4 separate regions of the Homo sapiens genome follow, and all the other regions are linked to region 1. The links are contacts of gene promoters, found by promoter capture Hi-C in blood cells and fetal thymus (Javierre and others, 2016). All regions are on one chromosome and are shown on one strand. The core of a region is centred on a gene start or on the middle of the fragment in contact, and the rest is flanking DNA. Distances in the headings are between cores, read along the strand shown. Region 1 holds the start of BIRC3 (baculoviral IAP repeat containing 3). Region 2 has its middle 28 kb from the start of MMP7. Region 3 has its middle 29 kb from the start of MMP7. Region 4 overlaps LOC124902740 (a long non-coding RNA gene).

The links. Contacts are between HindIII fragments. The CHiCAGO score rates a contact against its expected background, and 5 or more counts as called.
Region 2: a fragment that was not itself captured here is called in contact with the fragment with the promoter of BIRC3 in region 1 in 2 of 17 cell types (total CD4 T cells and naive B cells); the score reaches 5.4 in total CD4 T cells.
Region 3: a contact is called between a fragment that was not itself captured here and the fragment with the promoter of BIRC3 in region 1, in 4 of 17 cell types (naive CD4 T cells, monocytes, fetal thymus and 1 more). The highest score is 5.6, in naive CD4 T cells.
Region 4: a contact is called between a fragment that was not itself captured here and the fragment with the promoter of BIRC3 in region 1, in 8 of 17 cell types (neutrophils, non-activated CD4 T cells, naive CD8 T cells and 5 more). The highest score is 8.9, in neutrophils.

What each region holds. Positions count from the first base shown.
Region 1 is chr11:102,315,137-102,319,098 of GRCh38, forward strand. BIRC3 (baculoviral IAP repeat containing 3) reads left to right here and starts at 2,348. Exons shown (of 9, transcript NM_001165.5): 1 at 2,348-2,435. LOC124902739 (a long non-coding RNA gene) reads right to left here and starts at 2,107. Exons shown (of 2, transcript XR_007062864.1): 1 at 1,950-2,107; 2 at 759-1,436. RefSeq lists enhancers at 1,795-2,994, 1,899-1,968, 1,979-2,338, 3,140-3,339, 3,600-3,649. The HindIII fragment of the contact is 7,438 bases long and covers 1-3,962 here.
Region 2 is chr11:102,556,555-102,560,516 of GRCh38, forward strand. No RefSeq gene overlaps it. Among named protein-coding and RNA genes, the nearest start is that of MMP7, 28 kb to the left of the region's middle. The HindIII fragment of the contact is 4,858 bases long and covers 1-3,962 here.
Region 3 is chr11:102,499,876-102,503,837 of GRCh38, forward strand. No RefSeq gene overlaps it. Among named protein-coding and RNA genes, the nearest start is that of MMP7, 29 kb to the right of the region's middle. The HindIII fragment of the contact is 4,304 bases long and covers 157-3,962 here.
Region 4 is chr11:102,479,422-102,483,383 of GRCh38, forward strand. All of the region lies in intron 1 of LOC124902740 (a long non-coding RNA gene), which reads left to right. All of the region lies in intron 1 of LOC102723838 (a long non-coding RNA gene), which reads left to right. Among named protein-coding and RNA genes, the nearest start is that of TMEM123-DT, 28 kb to the left of the region's middle. The HindIII fragment of the contact is 6,416 bases long and covers 1-3,962 here.

The sequences.
Region 1 (3,962 bases), core at 1,098-3,597:
GAGTTGTCTACTGATAAGTAATTACATATTTTGATTAGAGATCACTAAATGATTTTTGGAATATAAAACATATTTTTTAAATTGTGAAAAAATTGCCATAATAATGTTTCTTCTGGGCCTATCTACTTATCTACTTACTTCTGTGAAATAAGGTTTACAACATTTATGTCTGTAGAAATGAAAAAAGGAACAGAATCTGTGCTGAACCCTAACATATTATAGCTATAGGTAATATTCATGACTGCACACTTGAAAAACTTGCTTAAAATACAAGCTGCCACCCCCTTAAATTGTATTTGTAATGCAGTTATTAACATTTACGATATTTTTATATTGTATTGACCAATTATGCTTTAAAAGTAATGAAAACAATATCAATGATAATGTAATCAAAGAGGATTTTTTTTTTTTTTTTTTGAGATGCAGTCTCACTCTGTTCCAGGGCTGGAGTGCAGTGGCACTGTCTTGACTCATTGCAACCTCTGCCTCCCAGGTTCAAGTGATTCTTGTGCCTCAGCCTCCCAAGTAGCTGGGACTACAGGCGTGCACCACCACACTTGGCTCATTTTTGTATTTTTGGGAGAGACCGGTTTCACCATGTTGGCCAGACTGGTCTTGAACTCCTGACCTCAGATGATCCACCCACCTTCGCCTCCCAAAGTGCTGGTATTATAGGCGTGAGCCACCATGCCTGGTCAAAGAGGAATTTTTTTTTTTTTTAACACTTAGATCCTTATGATCCCAGAGAAAAAAATAGATTTCAAGTTCTAATATGTATTTGTTTCAGAGATATGTGACAGAGAGATGATAAAAGATGTTCAGTACAAACATGTATTAACATTCTGTAGGGGAATTGGAATGTTCAATGACAAAAGGCAATGATAAAATATTTTCAGTTATTAAAGATGACCTGATAATTGCTTCATGGATGATCATGTATGTCAAATTACTATGGTATTAGGATCCATCAAATACATTTAAAAGAGTGCTCTATCAATTTTTTCTGAAAATATCTATGTTTACATTTTGTAGATTCTTGACATGTACAAGAGCTTTATGTTTTAATGTTAAGTTAAAAATGGGCAAGGGAATGCAGAGCTTTTCAAAATTCTTCTGGTGAGTACATAATCAAAAATGTGTAAGGCCTGCAAATTATTTTCAATAATCTCAGGAGTGAGTTGAAAATGGCTTAGAAAGTCTTGATTGAAGCAGACTCAAATGTGGATTAAAATCTCCATATGATAAATACACTTAGTCTTTCTGAAATAATTCCAACTGGAACTTCAGCTGCTATGGACAGCCAAGTCCACCTAAACAAGAGGATGCCTCAGCTCAGTCCAATTGCGTGCAGAATGCACTGGATGCTGTTTCCACAGAACGATGAAGTCTCCAATAATCTTTATGGGCTCTGTCTCTGGTTGGTAATTGTCTTTGATCTACTGGAAGATAGAAAATCAGATGAGCTCTCCAAATCCATCTGTTACCCTGGTACGGATGGCTCTCAGATAAAGTTGCTTAAATTTACTGCTTAGAGAACGTTGAGGGAAATATGGCAGTGCAATTAGACTCAAAGATGTCAGGTTTCCCTGAGAATGGCACTGCAACTCAGAAACCTGCCCTGTGAGATCAAAGGCTATAAAGGAGGGATTTTTTTAAGTAGCCAACTCCACCCTACTTATTAAAAAAAAAAAAAAAACAACTCACCAAACCAAACAAAAGTATTTCCATACAGAAAATTTACCAAGCCATTTCAATCTTTAAAATGGTAAAATAAACTGCAAAGGAGAACTGCATGATTTTTTTCACATACCCCTACATTTCCTTTCACCTCTTACTTTCTTGATCAGAACAAAAAGTAAAAATAAATAGAAATATTTCACAAAGTTTCGATTTTTTTTTTTTTAAATGCTGGACTTCTGCAGCTATAGTAGAAGATTGAAAAACCTAACCTTTTTACGTGTAAAGTGTATGGCGGATGGAGGGTGGAGAACAGGGCATATTGACCTTTTCCAGGCAGGCTAAGCAATGATCGTCCTCTCTATATGGGTTGTTATCAAGATTTCCTCTGACCCACGAGCAATGAAGCAAATGTCTTTCAGTAAATGCCGCGAAGATATGCCACGGTTAAGAGTCATGCTTTTGGGTCATGGAAATCCCCGAGTGGGTTTGCCAGGCCACTGATTAAGAGGAAGTGTGTGTGGTTATTACCGCTGGAGTTCCCCTAAGTCCTAAAAGGAAAGCACCAGTGCACATGCAAACCACTGGGAGGAGTGCGGAACGCCTGGTACAGATAGGGGTGGGGATTTGGGTGACGCATTTAAAAGACAGCGTGAGACTCGCGCCCTCCGGCACGGAAAAGGCCAGGCGACAGGTGTCGCTTGAAAAGACTGGGCTTGTCCTTGCTGGTGCATGCGTCGTCGGCCTCTGGGCAGCAGGTGGGCAAGGAAGGCTGGTGTGTGTGTGTGTGTGTGTGCGTGTGTGTGTGTGTATGTGTGCGCGCGCGCGCGCCTCCCCTGGTGTAAGAGATGTGCCAGCGGCTGGCCGAGGGGCGCTTAGGGCTAGAGCCCGGGGCGCTGCAGAGGTTGAGAGTCAGTGGGTGGGGCGCAGTTATCAAACACCAGGGCCCAAAAGCAGGCTCTAGATAGGTTCCAGGTGCTCAATTTCTATTTCACGTTTGGAGTGAGCCAGTGGAATTGTGAAGTTGTGGCATTTTGATTCGGTTGCCAAGAGTTATCACTGGGCCTTTGCAGGTGCCAAATAAATTTCAGGACAGAGCCTAAGGCAGAGCTCTGGCACAGGAAGGAAGTAAAACGTTTAATGAGCAAATGGACGCATGTTTCCAAGCGGTGGTAGGAAGACAGCAGTTTTTGGTTGTCTTCCTGGTGATCAGCATGGAAACCTAGTAGTGCTCTTACTCTGATCAATACATTGTCGAAGGCATGTACCTGATGCTAACGTAACAATAATATTAAATATTGACTTTATTTGCTATTATTTATTGCTAACATTAAGTACTGCTACCTGCTATGTGCTAGGTTTGTCTCTGAAGACTTTACATGTATTTTTCACGTTTAATTATCATAATCTTAAGAAGCAGGTACCATAATTATCTCCATTTGACAATGAGGAAACTGAGGCTCTTGGAGATTTACTTGTGCAAGGTCATGCTTCTGGTTACCGGACTGCTTGGTATTGGGCACCCCCGATGTCTGACTCCAAAGCCTGATACTAATCAATCACTGAGCTGACTCTGTGGTCATTAATATAAAATTGATAGAAGTACTGTGGTCACTCAGGTCTCAGTCATTTACTTCTTCAACGGGAAGTCTTCGTGTCTACCCCATATACCAAGCTCTGCAGATGCTATGAGTGGGAGGGCAGGTACAGAGATGAAACATATTAATAGTTGCCATTCTAAAAGAGCTTACTGTCTAGCGGGAGGCAGAAAGAAAAGGCACACTTGCCCTCCAGTGTCAGAAAAATGGATGTGCTGCATGCCCAAAGGGTAGGGATGCCCAACAGCCCTGGGACTGGGGAGGTTGCCTTCTTGGTAGGTTAAATGAATGAGTCAGAAGAGGAGAGGCTGGGGACTGAGCCAATCTGAGAAGGAACCACTAGAAATGAAAGAAGAATCCCAAGAGCTTGGTATCAGAGAAGCCCAGGGAATGGGACATTTCTAAGAGGAAGTGTGTCCCAGTGTCAGATGCAAACATTTCCATTGGTTTTAGCAAAAAAGCCATTGGTGTTATTAACACCGAAAGCAGTTTTAAGTGATGCTGACTTAATGAGTAAATGGGAGAGGGAAAATGGAGACATTAACCATACACACATGTCCAGTTTGCTTGGCTGTGAAGAGAAGGGGTGATACAGGGTAGTTGCTAGAGTGGAAAGTGTGGTTGAAAGAGGATTTTTTTTTTTTTTTTTTGAGACAGAGTCTCACTCTGTCACCCAGGCTGGAGTGC
Region 2 (3,962 bases), core at 400-2,899, 240 kb after region 1:
TCAATACAAATGCACTCTTTTATGTCATTATGTCAGTGCTCTGGGCATAGTCAGTGCTCTGGGAAGTCTCCCAGGCAGCCTATTTTCCAGTACAAGGACTAGCTTAGACCGAGGCAATGAAAAATTCATGACAAGAGAGTTCAGAAAATGTAGTGTACTTGCTGCCTTCAGGTACCACTTGATTGACTTCTCTCATATTGGGCTCTGCAGTAGCCATGTAATAAAGCAAGGGTGGGAAATTCCATGTTGGAAGCCCTCTTCCTGGGGCTCATCCCTGAAGGCTGTATGGTTGCTGCCTAAGATGGTAAGGGTATCAGGCAGGTTTACGTGGTGTCTGTGGCCGTGGCAGTATGTACAGAGGACAGTGACCATAATAGTGTCATGGAGGGGAATCTTCCTAACGAGATTTAGTTTACTAAGTTAACATTGCAGGTATTACTTGAATTGTATTCCCTGCTATATGCAACTATTAAATTAGATTTTTTCTTAGGGATGATCCTCTTTATATTTTATTGATAAAAATTTAGTGACAATACTTCAGCTATTTCACAGAGTTGTATTTGCATTCTGACTAATTAGTTCAAAATGCTACCTCTAGTCTGGGCATGGTGGCTCATGCCTATAACCCTAGCACTTTGGGAGGCCGACACAGGAGGATCGCTTGAGCCCAGGAGAAAGAGACCAGCCTGGGAAACATGTGAGACTCTTGTTTCTACAAAAAAAATTTAAAAATTAGCCAGATGTGGGGGCATGCACCTGTGGTAATAGCTACTCAGGAGACTAAGGTGGGAGCATCACTTGAGCCAAGGAGGCAGAGGTTGCAGTGAGCTATGATCGCACCACTGCACTGCAGCCTGAGCGACAGAATGAGACTTGTCTCAAGCAAAAACAAAAACAAGAACAAAAACCCAACAACCAAAATGCTGCCTCTAGTTTTCTGCCTATTTGTGTAATGCATATGCATATTTCTGATATGTTTATGTTTGCAGAATGAATAGACTAACCAAAGCTAAAGCACAAATGCAAAAATTGGCATTGATGAGAACTGATTCTACTTACGTGACATTCTGGAAAAGAGAAAATATACGAACAGAAAACAGATCAGTAGTTACCACGGACTAGAGAAAGCTGAGGGAATTGACTACAAACGGGCACAAAGGAACTTTTCTGGGTGATGGAAACATTCTACATCTTGATAGTGGTGTTGGTTACCTGACCTCCTAAACTCATAACTGTACACTTAAAATGGGTGAAATTTACCATATGTACCTCAATAAGCCCAACTTAGGAAAACAATAAAAATAATGATGCCCCAACCATCTTATTTAAATAATCTACATTTTAAAAGATGCTAAATTAGGATAAATTTTAAAATTTTTCAATGAATTTTACTGTTTAGAAATTTATCATTAAGGAAAACTATTCCAGACTTAGAAAACGTAGAGATAGTTGTGTCCTTTCAAACTCATATAAAAGCATTGTCTAATAAGCTGACCTGAGGGACATCTGATGCTTTAGAATGATGTTACTGATAACAGCAGGAGGCAGACATATTCCTAGGCAGACAGGGGTGGGTCTGCAGTGAAACCTGACCCTCAAGCCAAAAACAGCCTGAAGCCTGAAAACCTGGCTCCGGGTTCCAGATAGAGTCCACAACCTAAGCGAGAACTATTTCTGTGTGCCCGCTCTTTTCTGATTGGTTATTTCTGAAAACTTCCTTTTAATCAATCAAATGTTGCCTTTTCCAAGGGTACCTACAGCCCACATCTCCCCCATTCTGAGCCTATAAAAACCCCAGACTCAGCCACATGGAGGGACTACCCAACTTTGGGTAGGGGCTACTCACTTTGGGAACCCTCTCTGTGGAGAGCTCTTCTGCCATTTGATAAAACTCTTCTCTGCCTTGGTCACCCTCTGGTTGGCTGCATAACTCATTCTTCTCGAACGTAGGACAAGAACCTGGGACCTGCTGAATGATTGGTGCAAAAAAGACTGTAACATGTTCCTGGCTGGCTCACTGAGCTGTGGGCATTGACACGCTCCCATTCTCTGGTCCATGGGAGAGAAGAGCGGCAACCCTTCTGGAGCCCAGACCTCAGGACTCCCCAAGCTGGAGCTGTAACACCCCCTTTGGGTTCCACGGTTGCTGATGTCTCTGAGTTTTTCAGGCACCACCATGTTCCTCTCATCCAGATGCTGGTGCCCAAGGTGGAGGCCACTTGCAGTATTCCTGGTCCAGCTGCAGACTTGTACAGAGGTGGCCCCTGGAGTTGCCCCCTACTGCTGTAGCAGCTGGTGCTCCTGGCTTGCCCTTGATGGGTGTGAGATCCAGGTTGGCAGCATGAGCACAGCACAGCCTGCTGGGCCGAGTATGTGGGGCAAGTCTAGCAGTGAGCCCTGAGTGGAGTGAAGCTGGGGCAGGAGTGCTGCCGGCCGCAGAAATTTCCACCTGGAAAGCAGCACCTAAAAATCCTGTCATTTCTTTTGTTAAAATTACTATTTACTATTGATTAGGACTAGATTCTAGGAATTAACATCTATCATTACAGAGTTGAAAATAATTTTCATTTGGTAGAGATGAAATTGATTTCTGTGTGATTGTGTAGGGGAGGAAAAAATGCTCCCTTCTACCCTTCTATGTTCTGTGGCTGGTCTAAGAATTAAATGGACATAAAAAACATTAGTAGGAGAAAAATAACTTTAATTTATGGACATATGCGTGGGAATCCCACTAAAAATGAGACTCAAGGAAGTACCCAGATAACTGAGACATATGTCAGCATAAGCTATAGGAAAAAATAGGGCTTTGGAACTTCTGGGGAGTGGTGGAGGCAAATGATGGGAAGGTGAGAGGAGGAAATGTAGGGTGAATATAGTTTACCTTCTTATGTGGATAAGAGTCTCTCAGGCAATAAAAATTGTCTTAGAGTTGTTCTCTTCCTGGTATGGATACCTTTACTAATAGAAATTTTCTTTGTAAATGTAAATTTTCCTTACAGAAGGGGAAGTTTATACATTATTTTAAACAGGTGAGGGGGAAGTGAAGAGCTTTTTCTGCATTGGCTGTTTCTTAATTTACTTTAGCTTGAAATAAGCAATATGCCAAGTGGCATATTTTGAGGGTAGCATGTTTTGAACCCCTTCAGTAGAAAACATAATCCAGAGGTTATGATTTTATAGCTCTTTACGACATTAGCCGGTTTTGCTCTGTTGGGAGGAAAACTTTCCCCTAACCCTCTTAGGTTTGAATGGTCTAGGCCTTTGGATTAACTAAGAATAGATTAACAGAACAAAAGTTTTTGTGCCTACAGAAGTACTCAGTAATGAGTAACTTGTTTAGTAGCCAGAGATAAAGGTTTGTATTCCAATTTAGCAAAAATGGAGGGGAGGTTTAGGGCATCAATAGGAAAGTATGAAAGGCTCTATTTGGCTTTTTGATGCTAATAGGCAGCTAAATTCATACTTCCTGGTGCTGAGTGTCAGTATTTTCTGAAACAGGAAACTCCCTGGGTGAAGGGGTGTGGGTAGTGTCAAAGGCAGGTGTATTTTTGGGAGTACCTGCATAAGTGTAGATAATGTTTTATTTTTATTTTTTGGTGATTGTAGATTAAGATGTTCTCAGTTTAAAATAATTTTTATACCACTTTGGTGAGCTGTTAATCTACCCAGTATCTAATTTAGCAATCTTATTTTAGCATCTTTTCTTTTACTAATTCGATACACCAGTCTTGCATATACTTCTTTAAACAGCCTTTACCATCCTAATGGTTCCCTCATTAAGTTTAAATATTTGAAATGTGCTCACTATGTATTCTCATAAATATATTTTTGAACATTAAAAAGTTTATACTTTGGCAATTTTCTATACTTTTTCATTCCTAGTACACAGTAGTTCTCTTACATATGCATGTATTAGCCTTTTGTTAGTTTATAATATCATCATTATGGGAAAAGTATTCTGA
Region 3 (3,962 bases), core at 1,059-3,558, 180 kb after region 1:
AAGAGGGAGGGAGAGAGAGAGAGAGCGAGCGAGAGAGAACGAGAGAGTGAGCCAAACTTGTTTTTTTATAATTCCCATGATAACAAACTCCCTCCTGCAATAATGGCATTAATCCACTCATGAGGACAGAGCCCCCACAGCTTTGTCACTTCTTAAAGCTTCCACCTCTTAATACTGTTAGAATGACGTTTAAGTTTCAACATGAGTTTGGGAAGAGACAAACATTCAAGCCCTAGCAATGGCTTAGTTTGTTCATCTATAGTCACATGAAGTGCATTGCTATGTGTGGTTAAATATAGTTTAATTATTGTCAAGAACATTCCAGAAGACATGAAGTTGAAGAAAAGAAGTTCTACAACGGTGATGTGTTATTAAAAATGATTTCTTTCAGCCTAATAAAACTAAACCTGGAATAGCTATAATTTCTTCACTAAATTATTAACTCTGCAATGATAAATAGCTGGTTCCTTTTTAATACAAACATTTTTAAAAGACACTTTTATTCCATGGTAACTTGTGTTATTGTTTCTTCCTAACAGTCACACTTCATTTTTCAGATGAGATATCCTGTTTCTAACTTTCTCTTCCTTATTAAGGAAACTTTTTGCCTAAAGAAACTTTGTGATAATTATTTTTTATGTGCTTTTGAAAAATATTTTATGGTGTTATTATTACAAAATAAATTCCTGTCCATTATAAAAACACATATAAGGAAAACCTGGATATGACCATGCATACTATTTTGTTCTTTATCATTCCACACCTAAACATATGTTTATACTATATTTATACATTTAAAAAATATGTTTAAAATATACTAAAAAATAGAACTGATAATTCAATACATAGTATTTTACAAATTGAATTTTAACTTATATTATGATCTTTTTTCATTGTAAATTTTTCTCTTTTTTTGAGGAAAAATATATATAACATAAAATTTAATGTCTTAATCATTTTTAAGTGTACAGTTCAGTGGTATTAAGTACATTCGTATGCTTGTACAACCATCACCACCATCAATCTCCAGAACACTTTCCTTCTTGCAGAACTGAAGCTGTATGCCCATTAAACAATAATTCTCTATTGCCCCTTCCCCCAAAGGCCCTGGAAACTATCATTCTACTTTCCATCTCTATGAATGTTATACTCTAAGTACCTCATGTAAGTGGAGTCATGCAGTGCTTGTCTTTTTGTAACTGGCTTATTTCACTGAGCCTAAGGTCCTCAAGTTTTATCCAGAATTTTCTTCCTTTTTATGGCTAACATTCCATTGTGTATATATACCACATTTTGTTTATCTGTTCATCTGTCAGTGGACACTTGTGTGCCTCCACATTTTAGCTCCCGGGAATAATGCTGCTATGAACATGAGTGTACAACTGTGTCTTTGAGACCCTGCTTTCAATTCTTTTGCGTACTTTCCCAGAAGTGGAATCGCTGCATCATATGATAATTCTGCTTTTATTTCTTGGAGAACCACTGTACTGTTTTCCACAACTGCTATACAATTTTCCCTCGAAGTGTGCACAGAGGTTCCAATTTCTTCATATATTCACCCACACTTATTCTCAGCTTTTAAAAATAGAAGCCATCTTAGGGGATGTGAGTGAGGCAGTATCTTGTTGTGGTTTTGATTTGCATTTCTCTAATGATTAGTGATGTTGAGCATGTTTTAATGTGCTTATCGATCATTTGTATATATTCTTTGTAGAAACTTCTATTTAAGTTCTTTGCCCATTTTTAAATCAAAATTTTTTTGTTGTCAAATTTTAGGAGGTCTCTATATATGCTCTATATTAATTCCTTATCATATATATGATTTGCAAATATTTTCTCCCATTCTTTGGGTTGCCTTTTTATTCTGTTGAGAGTGTTTTTTGATGCACAAAATTCTTACATTTTCATGAAGTCCAGTATGTGCATTTTGTTGTTGTTGTCTGGGCTTTTGGTGTCCTATCCAATAAATCATTGTCAAATCCAATATCATGAAGCACTTGCCCTGTGCTTTCTTCTCAGAATTTTTTTTTTGTTTGGTTTTCTGTTCCTGTGTTAGTTTGCTAAGAATGATAGTTTCTAGCTTCATCCATGTCCCTGCAAAGACATGAACTCATTCTTTTTTATGGCTACGTAGTATTCCGTGGTGTATATGTGCCACGTTTTCTTTATCCAGCCTATCATTGATGGACATTTGGGTTGGCTCCAAGTCTTTGCTATTGTAAATAGGGCTGCAATAAACATACGTGTGCATGTGTCTTTATAGTAGAGTGATTTTTTTTGTTTGTTTGTTTTGAGAGGGAGTTTTCCTCTGTTGCCCAGGCTGGAGTGCAGTGGTGTGATCTCGGCTTGCTGCAACTTCCACCTCCCGGGTTAAAGTGATTCTCCTGCCTCAGCCTCCCAAGTAGTTGGGATTACAGGTGCCTGCCACCATGCCCAGCTAATTTTTGTATTTTTAGTAGAGACGGGGTTTCACCATGTTGGTCAGGCTGGTTTTGTACTGCTGACCTGAGGTGATCTGCCTGCCTTGGCCTCCCAAAGTGCTGGGATTATAGGTGTGAGCCACCACACATGACAGTAGAATGATTTATAATCCTTTGGGTATATAACCAGCAATGGGATTGCTGGGTCAAATGGTGTTTCTGGTTCTAGATCCTTGAGGAATCACCACACTGTCTTCCACAATGGTTGAACTAATTTACACTCCCACCAACAGCGTAAAGCATTCCTATTTCTCCACATGCTCTTCAGCATCTGTTGTTTCCTGACTTTTTAATGATTGCCATTCTAACTGGCATGAGATGGTATCTCATTGTGGTTTTGATCTGCATTTCTCTAGTGACCAGTGATAACGAGATTTTTTTTCCTATGTTTTTTGGTCACATAAATGTCTTCTTTTGAGTAGTGTCTGTTCACATCCTTTGCGCACTTTTTGATGGGGTTGTTTTTTTCCTGTAACTTTGTTTAAGTTCCTTGTAGATTCTGGATACTAGACCTTTGTCAGATGGATAGATTGCAAAAATTTTCTCCCATCTGTAGGTTGCCTGTTTACTCTGATGATAGTTTATTTTGCCGTGCAGAAACTCTTTAGTGTAATTAGATCCCATTTGTCAATTTTGGCTTTTGTTGCATGCAATTGCTTTTGGTGTTTTAGTCACGAAGTCTTTGTACATGCCTATGTCCTGAATGGTATTGCCTAGGTTTTCTTCTAGGGTTTTTGTGGTTTTAGGTCTTACATTGAAGTCTTTAAACCATCTTGAATTAATTTTTGTATAAGGTGTAAGGAAGGGGTCTGGTTTCAGTTTTCTGCATATAGCCAGCCAGTTTTCCCAACACGATTATTAAATAGGGAATCTTTTCCCCGTTGCTTGTTTTTATCAGGTTTGTCAAAGATCAGATGGTTATAGATGTGTGGGGTTATTTCTGAGGCTTCTGTTCTGTTTTGTTGGTCTATATATCTGTTTTGGTACCATTACTATGCTGTTTTGGTTACTACAGCCTTGTAGTATAGTTTGAAGTCAGGTAGTGTGATATCTCCAGCTTTGTTCTTATTCTTAGGATTGTCTTAGCTGTGTGGGCTTTTTTTTGGTTCCATATGAAATTTAAAGTAGTTTTTTTCTAATTCTGTGGAGAAAGTCAATGGTAGCTTGATGGGAATAACATTGAAACTATAAATTACTTTGGGTGGTATGGCCATTTTCATGACATTGATTCTTCCTACTCATGAGCATGGAATGTTTTTCCATTTGTTTGTGTCCTTTCTTATTTCCTTGAGCAGTGGTTTATAGTTCTCCTTGAAGCAGTCCTTCACATCCCTTTTAAATTGTGTTCCTAGGTATTTTATTCCCTTTGTGGCAATTGGAATGGGAGTTCACTCATGATTTGGCTCTCTGTCGTCTGTTATTGGTGTATAGTAATGCCTGCGATTTTTGCACATTGATTTTGTATCCTGACACTTTGCTGAA
Region 4 (3,962 bases), core at 468-2,967, 160 kb after region 1:
CTATAGACTAACTGATGCCATACAGCCATAAGATGTCATATACCCTATAGTTTAACAACGTATAGACAATCACTAACCAATGTGTTTCTGTAAATCAGTGAGAATTCTTGATGAACGTATTTTGTAATCACTCCCTCTCCTGATTCGTCCTTTTTCTTTAAAAACTTGAGCCTTTCCTTTGTTCTCCCAAAGGCTTGCCAAGGCAACCTGGAATCAGGCTGCAATCCTCAGCCTTGGCACAGAAAAACTCTTTAATTTTGCCTCAGCTTCTTCCTTTTAGGTCAACAAACTTATAATAGACTGTCTTTTACAGAGGGTGTTCTTGTCTTTATTTCCTTCCTTACTCTGTAATACCTTAATCTTGCCAGTAAAGAAATAAGGAACATTTGATTCAGACAGGAATAAAATCTATTGATTTGTACAAGATCTAAGAGCCCATAAACTCCTTTGTGATTTTTCACCACCCCTTAGTCCCTAATCCAGCTGACATTTCTACTTCAATTTCTGCTGATACAGCCTGATTTACAATGATTGACATCTGCTCAATTTTCTGTTCAATTCCATTGCGCCCTGACTCAAAATTTCTCTTTACATTCACATTTAGAGGGAGAAAATGAACATGAACTCATATAGGTCAGGGATACCATGAGTCCTTTTCAGTGTTTTCCCGAGTCCTTAAAGTCAGCTTAGACTCTGTGTCCTTTACCCAAGGCTCTACTCTTGTTCATTATTCCGATATGATCTTTTAGTTTGTTACTGAACTAAGCAACCCACTCTTCCAGACTCCCTCATTTTCCTAAAGGCACTAGCTCAACAGAGGCCATAAAGCCTTCCAACCTAAACTTCAGTGGGTGCAAATAACTGTTACTTATGTAGGATTGAATTGCTAGGTTGTCATATCTCAGAGCACTCAAAAGCTCGCCCCAAAATGCCTAGAGTCAGTTTTGTGCATTCCCCTCCCAAAAAAACATCTATGTAAATTTCTAGGAGCAGCTAGTTATTGCCACCAATATATTCCTAATTTTGTTGCCTTTGCTAAGCTCCTTTATACCCTCCTCCCAGATATTAATTCTGAGCCCATTTTCTTGGCCTGCAGATCCATAAATCTCCTCCGGAGCCTTAAAATTAACATCCACATCCCCTGCTCTCAGCTAACCTGATTTTGACAGACCTTTTCGCCCATCTCACCATGACACAATGGGATTGCTGCAGATATTTGGAACAATTTTTTTGCCTCTCTGATACACCCTGTAGCATATTTCTCATGTCAATTGGACCCCCATGCCGATGTGCAGTAGCCACAGCTACCACCCTAATAATTGACAAAGCCAGCATATTCTGATATTACACTCCTTCATTCATCCATATGTTCCCCATGCTGCCTGTTCTCTTACAAGTTCATAAGATACAGCACCTTTCTCCAGATGGCAGGCCACCTATGCACAGGCCCTGTTTACCAGCTCCTCCATCATGTTGCATTGTTGTAACACTTTAAATCCAGCTGCTCTACTGCCCCTGCCTGATGATGGAGAGCCTCACTCCATTCAATATGTTTGCCTTGCAGCTATAGAAAAGGTCTCAAAGCCACAAGAAGACCTCCTAGATACTCCTTTAGACAATCCAGACTTATTTCTATTTTGTAATGGCTTCTGTGGATGACATTTCCAGGAAACATAACTGTGAAGCCATAGTTTTCCCTTGTGAAACACTTCAGGCATCCTCTTTGTCCACTGTAAAGTCAGCCCAAGCTGCCGAATGTATAGATCTTGCTAGAGCTGGTGTAATGGCAAAAGGAAAAATTGCCACTATTTACCCTGACTCCAGATATGCTTTGGGTGTCTGCCACACTATTGGCAATCTGGAAGTCCAGCAGATTCTTAACTTCTGCTGATAATCCTATTTCCAATTAGCATATAATTGCTGCTCTATTACAGGCTGTTCACCTCCCTATTCAAATTGCTATTGCTCATTGTTCAGCTCACCCTAAGGAGACTGATAGTATATCTCTAGGGAACGAGAGGGTGGAGAAGGCCACTAAGAATGCAGCCCCAAAGAACCCTCCTATTCTTTTCCACCCTTTATTAACCTGCCTTTATTGCTTACTGGTGTTATTGATTACCAGAGAATGGGCACAGTGCGACAAACAAACAAACAAACAAACAAAAAACCCACAAATGAATACAAAAGAATGTCAGATAATTATCAGGTGTATTATACATGGGGCCAATGGAGTTCCTGTGGCCCCCCTTTTTTTAACTTCTTGGCTTGAAGCACTTATCTCCCTTCAGATGGGACATATGTACAGACAGAGGATAGTTAAGGAATGAAAAGATAATTGGTTTTGCCTTGGTATTTACAAAATTTCTAACTGAATTATTCTCAGTGCACTTCTAATAAATCCCATCAGATTTTTGGAGGAGACCAACGTGCCTCAGCAAGTCCTCTAAGACATTAGGCTTTAGGCTCTTCTTACTGTTTGATTGTTGTCTGTATGTTTAGTGGATGGATTGAACGCTATCTGACTAGATGTGCTGACACCATGACAGTGGTAAAGAAATTAATAACAGGTCAGGCGTGGTGGCTCACGCCTGTAATCCCAGCACTTTGGGAGGCTGAGGCAGGTGGATGATTTGGGGTCAGGAGTTTGATACCAGCCTGGCCAACATTGTAGAACCCCATCTGTACAAAAAATACAAAAATTACCCTGGTCTGGTGGCGCATGCCTTTAATCCCAACACTATGGGAGGCTGAGGCAGGTGGATCATCTGGGTCAGGAGTTCGATACCAGCCTGGCCAACATGGCAGAACCCCATCTTCACAAAAAATACAAAAATTTGCCTGGTGTGGTGGTGCATGCCTGTAGTCCTAGCTTCTTGGGAGGGTGAGGCAGGAAACTTGAGCCTGGGAGATGGAGGTTGCAGTGAGCTGAGATCGTGCCATTGCATTCCAGCCTGGGAGACAGAGCAAGACTCTGTCTCAAAAATAAATTAATCAATTAATAAATAATAAATAACAGATCATTCTTCATTTGGATGTTCTATTATAGATTCAATCAGACCACTGGAACTTATTTTACAGCAGAAATAAAACAGTTGTTTGCAAAAGTTCTAGGATATTCATTGAAATTTAATACCCTATATCATTCCCAATCCTCAGAGCAAGTGGAATGTAAACACTGAGACACAAAAGTAACTTTAGGACAAGTCTGTCAAGAAATTGGACTTAATTGGCTGAAAGCATTACACCTTGTAAAAAAAAAATGCGCAGGGTGCGGTGGCTCAGCACTGTAATCCCAGCACTTTGGGAGGCCGAGCTAGGCAGATCACTTGAGGTCAGGAGTTTGAGACCAGTCTGGCCAGCATGGTGAAACCCTGTCTCTGAAATCCCAGCTTCTTGGGAGGCTGAGGCAGGAGAATTGCTTAAATCCGGCAGGTGGAGGTTGCAGTGAGCTGAGATCGCGCCACTGCATTCCAGACAGGGCGAGACTCCATAAAAACAAGCAAACAAACAAACAAACATACAAAAACAAAACCATTACCCCTTATAAAAATCTAGAATACTCCAAATAGAAGACATGGATTAACCTCTTTTGAAATAGTGTTTGGTTGCCCCATGCCTACTGGCAGCTCTAAACCTTCCATTTCTGGATTGAATGAACATTACAGGGACTTCAGTGAACAATTTGACGCTATGACTAGATATACACAGACCCTATTACATTTAGAGCATATCATCAACAGGTAAAAGGGGCATGGCTTGTGCTGACTGACAGACCTTACTATAAACCTTTTGACTGGGAAATCAGAGTACATCAAGGCTTTTAGAAGAAAACATACGCTGTCACCTAACTGGGAATGTCCTTGCAAAGTACCACTGACCACCTACACTGCTATCAAAATAAAAGAAAAATCCTCCTGGATTCGTGCAAGTCATGCCAAACCAGACCCAGATTACCACTCCCA